Regions from separate parts of the Homo sapiens genome. Here regions 1 and 2 are each linked to region 3. The links are contacts of gene promoters, found by promoter capture Hi-C in blood cells and fetal thymus (Javierre and others, 2016). All regions are on one chromosome and are shown on one strand. Each heading gives the region's core, a stretch centred on a gene start or on the middle of the fragment in contact. The rest is flanking DNA. Distances are from core to core; before and after follow the strand shown. Region 1 has its middle 16 kb from the start of ZNF235. Region 2 overlaps ZNF112 (zinc finger protein 112). Region 3 holds the start of ZNF223 (zinc finger protein 223).

Region 1 (4,275 bases), core at 1,574-4,073, 270 kb before region 3:
ATTCAGTAAAGCAAAATTAGGAATGAGGTTTTATGAATTTAGAGGACATACAAAAATAAGATGTTTCGTAAGAACACTGCAAAACAGGGAAGACAGAAATTAGAAATATACTAGCAGAAATTAGAGGTATATGGTTGTACTCTATACATGAATTGGCATAATATGATTTGAAGATAGACTGTGAAAAAATACAGGAATATATTTTAAGCCCTAGAGTAACCATTTAAGAATTTTTTAAAGTACATCTCATAAGTCAGTAGTAGAAATTAAATTCTGGTTCCAAAAATAGCAATGTAGAAGCAAGCTGGCTTCACTCCTTTCAATAGAAAACTAAAGACAAATATACAGCACCAAGATTATCACCAGCAATATCCCAGAACTCAAATAGAAGGAGACAGTTCCTGAGGACACAAATAAGTGGAAAAAACTGAGCAGATGATAAGAGAAGTGGACTTTCCTATCCACAGTGCCCTTCCCCCTAATCTGCCTGGTGCCAAGACTGTGGAAAATTTTCCCGTCTCACGGTTTCTATACTGGAAAAAGTTAATCAAGGTGGACAACCAGCCTCCTCCCCATCTTGGGTTTCCTGGCAGGAGACTTGTCCCTGACTCAACCCACAGAAAGCATCAGGAGTAACTGAAGAGAGAAATATCCCTGAGGACAGCCAGAGACAAAGGAGGGAGGTGGGAATACTGTCCCCGTCATGGAAACTCTACTCTGCAACTCAGCCAAAGGAGACAACAATCAGAGTGGCTGTTCAGCATCACTATACTGTAGGTCCCCAATCATGAACCACTAGCCAGCTTTCTTACAACTAGGATATCCCCTATGGGACCTACCCCTTTTGGGATGGGTGGCACTATGATTATTTACTAGAACTGAGGCAAACCTGGAGTTAATAGGCTATCTAGTACCAAAAAGGAGTCAGTAACCTAACGGGAAAGAAGAAAATCAACAGGTAAAATATAAAGAATCTCTAGGGAGCCATATCCAATGAAAAACAAAACCAGCCAGACAGAGAATAGTGGAATGTATAATCATTCGATGCAAAGACAGACACACATCCATAAGCAACAACAGCAAACGGGGAGCCATGGCATCCCACAAATGGACAAAGCAAGGAACCAGTGACTGATCCTAACAGGAAGACGATATGTGAACTCTCTGACCAAGACTTCATAAGAGCTGTTTTAAGGAAACTCAGTGATCTCCAAGATAACACAGAAAAGCAATTCAGAAATGTATCAGAGAACCTGAACAGAGAATAAAATAATTTTTTAAAATCAAACAGAAATCTTGGAACTGAGAAATATGTTTGCTGCACTGAAATATCCATTAGAGGCTCTCAACAGCAGAATGTATCAAGCAGAAGAAAGAATCAGTGAGCTCCAAGACAGGCTATTTGTGAATACACAGTCAGAAGAGAACAGAGAAAGAAAAAGAGCAAATATTGACTGAAAGAGATAGAAAATATCTCAAATGACCAAAACTAAGAATTACTGCTGTTCAGGAGGGAGTTGAGCAAGAGCAAGGAGTAGAAAGTATATTCAACAAAATAACAGAAAACTTTCCAAAATTTAAGAAAGAGATGAATATCCAGGTACAGGGAAATCATAGAACAGCAAACAGATTTGACCCAACTAAGACTACCCCAAAGCATATAATAAACTCTCATAGGTCAAGGAGAAAGAATTATAAAAGCAGCAAAAAAAAAAAAAAAAAAAAAAAAAAACAAGCAAATGACATATAAAGGAGCTCCAATTCATCTGGCAAAAGACTTCTTAACAGAAGCCATATAGGCCAGGAGGAAGTGCAGAGACATTTTCAAAGTGCTGAAATTAAAAAAAAAAAAAAACTATCATCCAAGAATACTGTATCTAGCAAAGTTATCCTTCAAATATGAAGGAGAGATAAAGTCTTTCCAAGATAAACAAAAGATGAGAGAATTTACCACAACAGACTTCTAAGAAAGGTTCAAGGGAGTTTCCAATGTGAAAGAAAAAGCTACTAATGTGCAAAATGAAAGCTTCTGAAACTGTAAAACCCAGTGGTAAAGTTAAGTACACAGACAAACCAAGAATAGTATTGTAATTGTGATGTGCAATCCACTCATAACTAGTATGTAGCCCAAAAGAAATCTATCAAAAAGAATAATAGCAAGAGCAATTTGTTAAGAAATAGGTAATATAAAAATATGTACATTGAGACAACCAAAAATCAAAAGGTGGGACGGATGGGAGTTAAGTGTAGAAGTGTTTCTTCTTTTCATTTTTCTTTGTTTCTATTACTTGTAATCTAAGATAAGTTGTCATCTCTTTAAAATAACCTGTTATATCTATAAAATGTATTTTGTAAGCTTTATGGTAAACACAATACAAAAACCTATAATAGATTCACTAAAAGTAAAAAGCAACAAATTAAAACATACTGTTAACCACAAAGGAAGACAGAAAAATGAAGACTCTTAAATATTTAAGCAAAAAAAGAAGACAGTAAGAAAGGAAGAAAGAAAGGGAGGAGTTACAAAACAACCAGAAAACAAGCAACAAATGGCAGTAGTAAGTCCTTACTAATCAATAATAACACTGAATGTAAATTGACTCATCCTCTGATTAAAAGACATAAAGTGGCTGAATGGATAGAGAAACAAGACCCAACTATATGCTGCCTGCAAGAAACCCACTTCACCTGTAAAGACACACATAGTCTAAAAGTGAAGGGGTGGAAAAAGACATAGCTTGCAACAGGCAACGAAAAAAGAGCAGGAGTAGCTATACTTGTATAAGATACAATATAGACTACAAATCAAAGACTGTAAAAAAGACAAATAAGGTCACTATAAAATGATTAATGGGTCAATTCAGCAAGATGATATAACCATTATAAATATCTATGCATTCAACACCAGAACTCCGAAGTTTATAAAGCAAACATTAATAGATCGAAAATAAGAGATATATGGCAAAATAATAATAGTAGGAGACTTTGACATCCCACTCTCAGCAATGGACAGATCATCCAGACAGAAAATCAACAAAGAAACATTGAAGTTAGGTCACACACTAGACCTAATAGACATAACTGACATTTACAGATCATTTCACCCAATTGCTGCAGAATAGATGTTCTTTTCATCAGTACATGGAACATTGTCCAGAATAGACTATATCTTAGGCCACAAAACAAATCTCAACAAATTAAAAAAAAAAGAGAGATTATATTCAGTATCTTTTCTGACCACAGTATAATTAAACTAGAAATCAATAACAAAAAGGACATTGGAAGCTTCACAAACAACATGGAAATTAAACAGCATGCTCCTGAATGACCAGTGAGGCAATGAAGAAATTAAGAAGGAAATTTAAACATTTTTTGAAACAAAGAAAATAGAAATACAACATGGCAAAATCTATGGGATACAGCCAAAGCAAAACTTAGAGGTTTATAGCAACAAACATATATCAAAAAGGTAAAAAGATTTCAAATAACAACCTAATGATGCACCTCAAGGAACTAAAAAAGTAAGAACAAACCAAATCCAAAATTAGTAGAAGAAAATAAATAAAGATCAGAGCAGAAATAAATAAAATTGATAATGAAAGAAGAATACAGAAGATAAATGAAAGAAAAGTTGGGATTTTAAAAAGATAAACAGAAATCATCAAACCTTTGGCTAAACTAACCAAGAAAGAAAGAAGATCCAAGTAAATAACATCAGAAATGAAAAAGGAGACTTAACAACTGAGACCACAAAAATAAGAATCATTAGAAATAAGAATCATTAGAGACTGTGATGAACAATGATACACTTTGGAAAACCTAGAAGTAATGAATAAATTCCTGGACACATGCAATCGACCACAGTTGAACTATGAAGAAATAGAAAACCTCGATAAACCAGTAACAAATAATGAAATTGAAGCCATAATAAAAAGTCGCCTATCAAGGAAAAACTCATGACCTAATGGTTTCACTGCTAAATTCTACCAAACATTTAGAGAACTAATACCAATTCTACTCAAACTCTTCACAAAAATTGAAGAGAAGGGAATAATTCCAAATTTATTCTATGGGGCCAACAGTATCCTGATACCAAAACCAGAAAAGGACACAATGGAAAAAAAAACTGCAGGACATTATCACTGGTGAACATAGATGCAAAAATTTTCAACAAAATACTAGCAAACTGAATTCAGCAACATATTAAAAAGATCATTCACCAACATATTAAAAAGATCATTCACCATGATCAAATGGGATTCATCCCAAGGATGC
Region 2 (3,912 bases), core at 421-2,920, 290 kb before region 3:
TGTTGTTATCCCTCTCCCCCTTTTCTTTTTCTTTTTCTTTTTTTTTTTTGAGATGGAGTCTCGCTCTGTTGCCCAGGCTGGAATGCAGTGGCATGATCTCGGCTCACTGCACCCTCCACCTCCTGGATTCCAGCAATTCTCTGCCTCAGCCTCCCGAGTAGCTGGGATTACAGGTGCCTGCCACCACACCGAGCTATTTTTTTGTATTTTTAGTAGAGATGGGGTTTCACCATCTTGGCCAGGCTGGTCTTGAACTCCTGACCTCGTGATCTACGTGCCTCAGCCTCCCAAAGTGCTGGGATTACAGGCGTGAGCCACCGTGCCCGGCCCTTTTCTTTAAATTATTTCCAACTCACAAGCTTTTACGTTCCTGAGGATTCTTGCAGTTTTACATTGCAGTATCAGTTTTCCTACAAATAATCTTGACTCAAAAACCAGTGTGAGAGAATTTTGATATTATTTGTCCATAATGTTCTAGAGACTCAAAACTAAAAATATTTTCTCCTAAGTGATGTCTCAGGTGGAATACATAAAATATGATTTTGTCTAACAAGATTATATTGAAGCTAAGGTTGGGGGAAAAATAGATGTTTTTGTACAAGAAGAGCTAGATTCTTATATAAGAAGAGCTAGATTCTTCTCAGTACCTATAGCTATGTGTTTATCTATATATGTTTGTATGTCTGTGTGTGTTTCATTATTCATGTATTAATTTTATTAGAGTAATACAGGTACTTAGTTTAAAGTTTTTAGTCATACCATAGGATATATAGGCACTTTGCATCTGTCACACTATTCATGGCCCCAGATGACTGTTGGAGGGGAACTGTAGAGTCGTTTGCACTGTTAAGAGGTTCATGTTCATACAGGAAGATAAGCATTGGGCCAACTCTAAAGCCTTTGCTTTCTGGGCCAAGAGTTTCAGGCATATCACTTGCGTGGAAAGACTTACAAAAAAGCAAAGCAAACCAAAGCAGAGTTCTGCATTCAGAGCTGAAGCTGTTATGCTCAGAACTGCAGCCAGAAGAAATATGGGACTGAACAGTTGTTCATTTAAAAATTTAAAATTACCCTACAGCAAAAAGTTACAAGACAGCAAAGTGGAATGAAAAATATTTACAATGTCCATGGAAGAAAAGACCTCGGTGTCCTCCAAATGAATTATTATTACAAAACAAGAAATCGAGATGAACAGCAAATGTGTGTAAAGAGAATGAACTTTATTACCAATAAGTTTGTGAGAATGTTTTTAATAAATGATTTTTACTTCCCAAATTTACTTGTGAGATTATGAAAGATTTTTTTAAAAAGCTTTCATATCCAGTGTTGACTATGATTTATACTTTCTTGGAAGAAGGCTAAGATGGAAGGCGAAAGTCTGTTTTGGGAAAACACCTGCCATTATGATTTCAGAACTTTAAAGGTCATTATTCTTCAGCATTGCCATTGTTACTTTTTGGTATTTATTTTGAGGAGATAATCAACAGAATTCCAGAGGTTAACGTCAATGCAAAAGATTGTTTTTGCAACATTGTTCGTATAGGTAACCTCAAACTAAGTGTGCATTAGTTGGATCAAATTATTATATTCTAGACCATTAGTTCTCTGAATTACTTTGCAGCCCAGAAATGGGATAGAAGATATAATGAAAATATTAATAATGTAGCTAACATTTGTTGGGTACTTACTGTGTGCCAGGTGCTGTTTTCCATGCTTTACATGTGGTCACTCATTTTATTACTAGGACTGTATGGTATAAGTTTCACCATACAAATGAGAAGATAGGAAACTTGTCCAAGATCATAGAGCTAGCATTGGGCAGAGCGCCCAGATCCAGACACAGGCAGTCAGGCTCCAGAGCTGTGCCCATCACTGCAGCAGTCTCCAGATGAGCACAGAGGATGAGCTACATATTTGAGCAGTAAGGATGACTGATACCCTGTAAATTTGACAAATTAAATAAGTGATGTGTGTGTGTGTAAATGAGGAGAAACAGGTAGCATCAGTCACTGTTAGAACTAAAGCTTTTGTGGAGCAAATGACATTATTATTACAATTTAAAATATTGGTAACCTAGGGTGCAACAGAGTTCCAGAGGCTTACTTATAAGTGCTAACAAAAGGAAGTAATTTCAAAGTGCAAGGATTTCTTTTCTTGCAGCCCTTTTGGTGAATGGTATTAGCATTACAGAAGGTAAACAGAAGAGAACTATGTAAATGTGACTCAAGTTGCCCAGACTCCAGAACAGCTTCCAGTCCTTTACACCTTCTCAGCACTGCCCTTCTTCTGTAAACTTAGTGTGCATGTGTTTGGCATTGTAGGAGATGGTGACATTCAAGGATGTTGCTGTGGTCTTCACTGAGGAGGAGCTGGGGCTGCTGGACTCTGTCCAGAGGAAGCTGTACCGAGATGTGATGCTGGAGAACTTCAGGAACCTGCTCTTAGTAGGTGAGGATAGGTGCCCTTAGTTACTCAATGGCAGCCTCCTGGGGTGTCTTTGTGTGCTCAATTGTTAGAAACTCTGAAGCCCCTGAAATTATTCTCTGAGATTAGGTGCCCGAGAGTCCTAATAATCCCCGTGCAACACAGACAAGATGTTTCTGATGGTTTTGTCCAGTCTATCCTTGGAATAGTAAATATGGTCCTGCTTCATTGATTTGCCATCAAACAGTTTAGTAAGTTGTTCCAGGTTAGTAAGTTTATTTTTCAGGGCACCAGTAACTGTTGATGAACTTGACTTTTTAGAGGGGTTTTTTTAAAAAAACATTATATTTGTAAATAACTTTAAACTCACAGAAAACTTACAAAAGGACAAGAACACCCATATAGATTCGCCAAGATTCTACCTGGATTCACCTCTAATAACATTTTACCCTATTTGCTCTATCATTTATGTTCATGTTCTTTCCCTCTCCATACATACTTATGTATGTATATGAAAAAATATATATAGTCATAATATCTTTTTCTGAACGACTTGAGGGTAAGTTAATATACCATGGCCGTTTTTCTCTAAATACTTCAGTGTATATACAGAGTTCAGGAGTCCCCAAGTTCACTCTCACCTCTGATACCAATTGCAAGATTAGGAGTCCCCAAGACCCAAGAGTACTGAGCCCCACACTCAGGCTCAATAATTCACTAGAAGGACTCACAGAACTCACTGAAAGCAGTTGTCTTCACAGTTAATGATTCATTACAGGGAAAGGAATCAGATTAAAGTCAGCCTAGGGAAGAGGCCCAGGAGGCAGAGTCCAGGAGCGTTCCAGATGTCAGCTTCCACTTGTCATCTTCCGTGGAGTTGTGGACAGCACTGACTTCCCAGCAGTGAAGTATGACAATACGTAAGGAGCATTGCCAGCCAGAGAGGCTCATTTGAGCCTTGGTGTCCAGAGTTTTTACTGGAGCTTAGTTACCTAGATATGATTGACCACCTGGGTGGCTGCTCTTAGATTCCAGTTTCTCCAGAGGTTAAGCTAATACCACATGGCTCAAAGCCCCTACTATAAATCACATTGTTTAACTATCTGGTGTGTGGCCCAAGGCTTCTGGGTAAACGAAAGACACTCTAATCGGGCAGTATATTCCAGGGACTTAGCGATTACCTTCTCCAGAAGCCAAAGGCAAAATCCAGATCTCTCTTTAAACAAAACTAACTCTTTCCTTTACTGCACAGTCTGTTTTATAAAAAGAGGAATATTCTCTTACCTGTTCTCAGGACAGATATAATGTTTTTATCTTATCTATCATTTATGCTGTGATTTTATCCATAAAGCCAATTTTATATATATATTTTTTCTTTTGAGACAGAGTCTCACTCTGTTGCCCAGGCTGGAGTGCAGTGGTGCAACCTCAGCTCACTGAATCCTCTGCCTCCCAGATTCAAGTGATTCTCGTGCCTCAGCCACCTGT
Region 3 (3,896 bases), core at 528-3,027:
ATACACTGCGGAAGGCCACAGGGACCTCTGCCCAAGAAAGCCTGGGCATTGTCCAAGGTTTCCACCCACTGAGACAGCCTGAGAGATGGCCTCGTGGGAAGGGAAAGACCTGACCGTCCCCCAGCCCGACACCCATAAGGGGTCTGTGCTGAGGAGGATTAGTGAAAGAGGAAGGCCTCTTTGCAGTTGAGGTAAGAGGAAGGCATCTGTCTCCTGCTCATCCCTGGGAATGGAATGTCTCGGTATAAAACCCAATCGTACATTCTATTTACTGAGATAGGAGAAAACCGCCTTATGGCTGGAGGTGAGACATACTGGCGGCAATACTGGTCTTTACTGCACTGAGATGTTTGTGTAAAGTCACACATAAATCTGGCCTATGTGCACATCCAGGCACAACTCCTTTCCTTAAACTTATTTATGACAGAGTCCTTTGCTCACATGTTTTCCGGCTGACCCTCTCCCCACCATTACCCTATAGTCCTTCCACATCCCCCTCACCAAGATAGTAGAGATAGTGATCAATAAATACTGAGGGAACTCAGAGACCAGTGCCGGTACAGGTCCTCATTTGCTGAGCGCCGGTCCCCTGGGCCCACTTTTCTTCCTCTATACTTTGTGTCTGTGTCTTATTTCTTTTCTCAGTTTCTCATTTCCACCTTGTGAGAAACACCCACAGGTGTGGAGAGGCAGGCCCCCTTCAATATCAAACTCCAAATGAACAACTATGGAAATGTGACAGCTAAAGACAACGCATAAACTGGACTTTGAATAGGTGAAGGGTGGGGCAGAGGACAGTCATAAGGACTTTAAATGAAAAATTTAACAAATTCGTATATGGAACTGCAGATTAGATAACATGATGCTAGGTAATATGCTATCCAACACTATCTAGTAAGTACACTACAAATACTAGTATTCTTTTAACACATCTATCTGACATGTAATCGGTAACAGTATTATTTAACATAATATCCAATATTATCTACCATGTTATGTGAAACCCTATAACCAGCCCTTCCTAAATGCCTCTTACCAAGACACCCCACAATTACCGTGGTATGTGGGCTTCCTTGCTGCAGAAAGCTACCAATCAGCTGTCTCTGGTTACAGGTATGTTCCTGGTGGTATTTGGTTGATGGTCATCAACAAAGCAAACAGGAAAAATGTAAACACTTGGCAAATTTGGGTAAAGGGTATATGAGAATTTCTTATACTGTTTTTGCAATTTTTCTATAGCTTTGAAATGATATCAAACGTTTTAAAATATCAGGCAACAAGAGACCACTCACCAAGTGACAGGGACAACTTTAAGGCTTTCATTTGTATTATCTCTTTCAATTCGCAAAACAATTCTATTAGGATGACCCTATAAGCACCATTTTAAAGAACAGCAATGGGAAGTACAGAGACATTAACATTCCACATCACACTGCGAGAAAGAGTGTACACACTGCATACGTAGGGAGGCGGACTGAGCGAGGTCAAAGTCCTGGAAACCCTCAGAGCAGGGCACACAAGGCCACCCCAATCCCACCCCCCGGGAGGCGAGCAAAGCCCCCCGACGCCAGAAGGCTCCGCTGACGGGAACAATAAACACCCTCCCCGCCCTCGCACCTCTAAACCTCTGCTCTTCGCCAAGGCTTCTTTTCCCCTGAGACGATCATCGATCATCGGGTGGTTGCGAGCCTCAAGCAAAGGGGGTTCGTTCAAAATGTCCTGCAAGACGCAGAAATGGCTCAAACTACCCCGGTCATTAAAGCAGGAACCTCAGACTAGGAGACCGGAAGTGTCCTCTCTGCGCCAGAGTGTCTGGACTCCACTCCCCAGAATTCCCCGGACCCGCCCCCCTGAGCCAAAGGGCCCGGGACTCCGCAGAGTGTCTGGACTATCGTTCCCAGAATTCAACGGTTCACCTGCCAGAGCCAAAATACCCAGTGTTCCACGAGCCAGTGGACTACACTTCCCGTAAAATGGACTACTCTTCCCAGAATTCTCCGGAAACGCCTACCTGAGCTGAAGTATCAGGAATCCCGCAAGGTGTCTGGACTGCAGAGCCTCAGATGCAAAAGGAAAATGTCCATCACCTCACCCTTTAGGCTCAAGTGTTGCGACTACATGGTGCTCCTCGATTACACTTCCCGCAACACCCACGGGGAACGAATTTCATAGCCCCAGGTTCCTGGTGGGGAATGCAGACTGTTACCCTGACAGTTGTCCTTCCCAGAGTCCTCGAGCGAAAATATTGAATAGAAAGAATTTATGAAGTCTAAATGTCTCCCATGATTGACAGGAGTGTTCTTGGACAGGGAACAAGCGAGGAGATACAATATTCAAGGAGCTAGATAGAGTGACTGTTGAGCCGTCAGATGGCTGAAAGGAGGCTCAGGGTTTAAAGCAAGGATATCCAACTCCAGGGCCACAGACCTGTACCGGTCCACTGACTGTTAGGAACCGGGCGGCACAGCAGGAAGTGAGCGGCAGGTGAGGGAGCATTATGGCCTGAGCTCCACCTCCTGTGAGATCAGCCCAGCATTACATTCTCATAGGAGCGCGGATCCTATTGTGAACTGTGCGTGCGAAGGATCTAGGTCAGGCGCTCCTTATGAGAATCTAATGGCTGAGGTGGAACAGTTTCATCCCGAAACCATTCCCCAGTCCGTGGAAAAATTGTCTTCCACAAAACCGGTCCATGGTGCTAAAACGGTTGGGGACCACTGGTTTAAAGAATGAGCCAGGTAGAATGGGTTGGGAGGGGCAATGAGAAGCCAGGAAAGCATCAGCCCCTGTAACTGAAAAGTAGATCAGTGGCTTCCCGTTTGCAACGTCCAGTTAACAAGAGGGAGATCTGGTATAAAGAAAGTGATTTATTCTAGAGCTAGCGTAGGGGAAGTAGCACAGGTGTTGTCTTTAAGTGCACGGCTTGGCTTTTAGAGCAGAAAGCAGGCACTTTTAAAAGGTAGGGGAGGAAGAGGGAAGGGGTCTGTGTGCTGGCTTGGTGCCTTATCTATTAGGCAGTTGAGCTGGCTTTTTCATGGGCAGAAATAAGTTGTAACCAGAAGGGAGAGAGTAGCAGGCACGCTTTCAACTGTTGTCTCTTCAGGCAACCTCCTGGTGAGTGAGAGTTCAGAGGCCAGCATGCTTTAGTTTGTAAATTGACTGTTAATTCTGGAGGAGAGTTCTGGCTTGGAGCACACAGTTAGATGAACTTTCCCTGTAGGAAGTGTCTGGTGAAGGGGAGGTAAAAGTCTATATTTGCATTTTTAAAGGGCTACATAGGAAGTGGGGAACTAAGGGAATGAGAAAAGAGAGAGAAATAAATAAGCTGTCTCTTAGAAAAATGGTGGTTCTCAGTTACAGCCCTAGTCCAGATGCTGTGGTACCACTGGTTTGACAGGAAAAACAAAATTCCAGCCACCAATGGAGAAGCTGTGTCCTCATGGAAAAGCTACATTTAACATTCTCATGGTAGTAATATTTCTACTTTAGATGTAGAAACGCTAAATTTCAGAGAAGTTAGTGAATTGCTAAGTATCTTAAAGCAAGTATAACTGTTGAAGAGCTTGGCATTGGTATCAATCTGACACCCAATGTCTGATTCAATGCCATAAAACTGGAGAAGATTCTATAGGTGACGGAGCATGATTTATTATTAAGAGTTTCTTCCTTTCCATTTCTTGGTTAAAATATCTTCATTATAGGAAACAATTTGAAAACTGGCATATGTTAGTTGAAAGACATTAATAATAGTATAAAGCTAAATCAGGAAACAATTCATCTAAAATTCTCTTTTGAAGATAAACCATATTTTTTGTCCTCCCAAATAAACATACATTGACCTGTCGACCTATATTTTTCTTTTTAAAAAGAGTCTAATGTCCTGTATCCATTTTCCT

What was found. The method cuts DNA at HindIII sites, captures the fragments that hold promoters and counts their contacts. A CHiCAGO score of 5 or more calls a contact.
Region 1: a fragment that was not itself captured here is called in contact with the fragment with the promoter of ZNF223 in region 3 in 2 of 17 cell types (naive CD8 T cells and total CD8 T cells); the score reaches 5.6 in naive CD8 T cells.
Region 2: a fragment that was not itself captured here is called in contact with the fragment with the promoter of ZNF223 in region 3 in 1 of 17 cell types (fetal thymus); the score reaches 5.4 in fetal thymus.

What each region holds. Positions count from the first base shown.
Region 1 is chr19:44,319,359-44,323,633 of GRCh38, reverse strand. No RefSeq gene overlaps it. Among named protein-coding and RNA genes, the nearest start is that of ZNF235, 16 kb to the right of the region's middle. The HindIII fragment of the contact is 929 bases long and covers 2,359-3,287 here.
Region 2 is chr19:44,338,952-44,342,863 of GRCh38, reverse strand. It overlaps ZNF112 (zinc finger protein 112), which reads left to right. Exons shown (of 4, transcript NM_013380.4): 2 at 2,322-2,448. The coding sequence starts at 2,325. Among named protein-coding and RNA genes, the nearest start is that of ZNF112, 16 kb to the left of the region's middle. The HindIII fragment of the contact is 713 bases long and covers 1,314-2,026 here.
Region 3 is chr19:44,049,917-44,053,812 of GRCh38, reverse strand. ZNF223 (zinc finger protein 223) reads right to left here and starts at 1,777. Exons shown (of 5, transcript NM_013361.6): 1 at 1,618-1,777. RefSeq lists enhancers at 1,551-1,790, 1,610-2,111 and a silencer at 1,831-1,890. The HindIII fragment of the contact is 18,414 bases long and covers 1-3,896 here.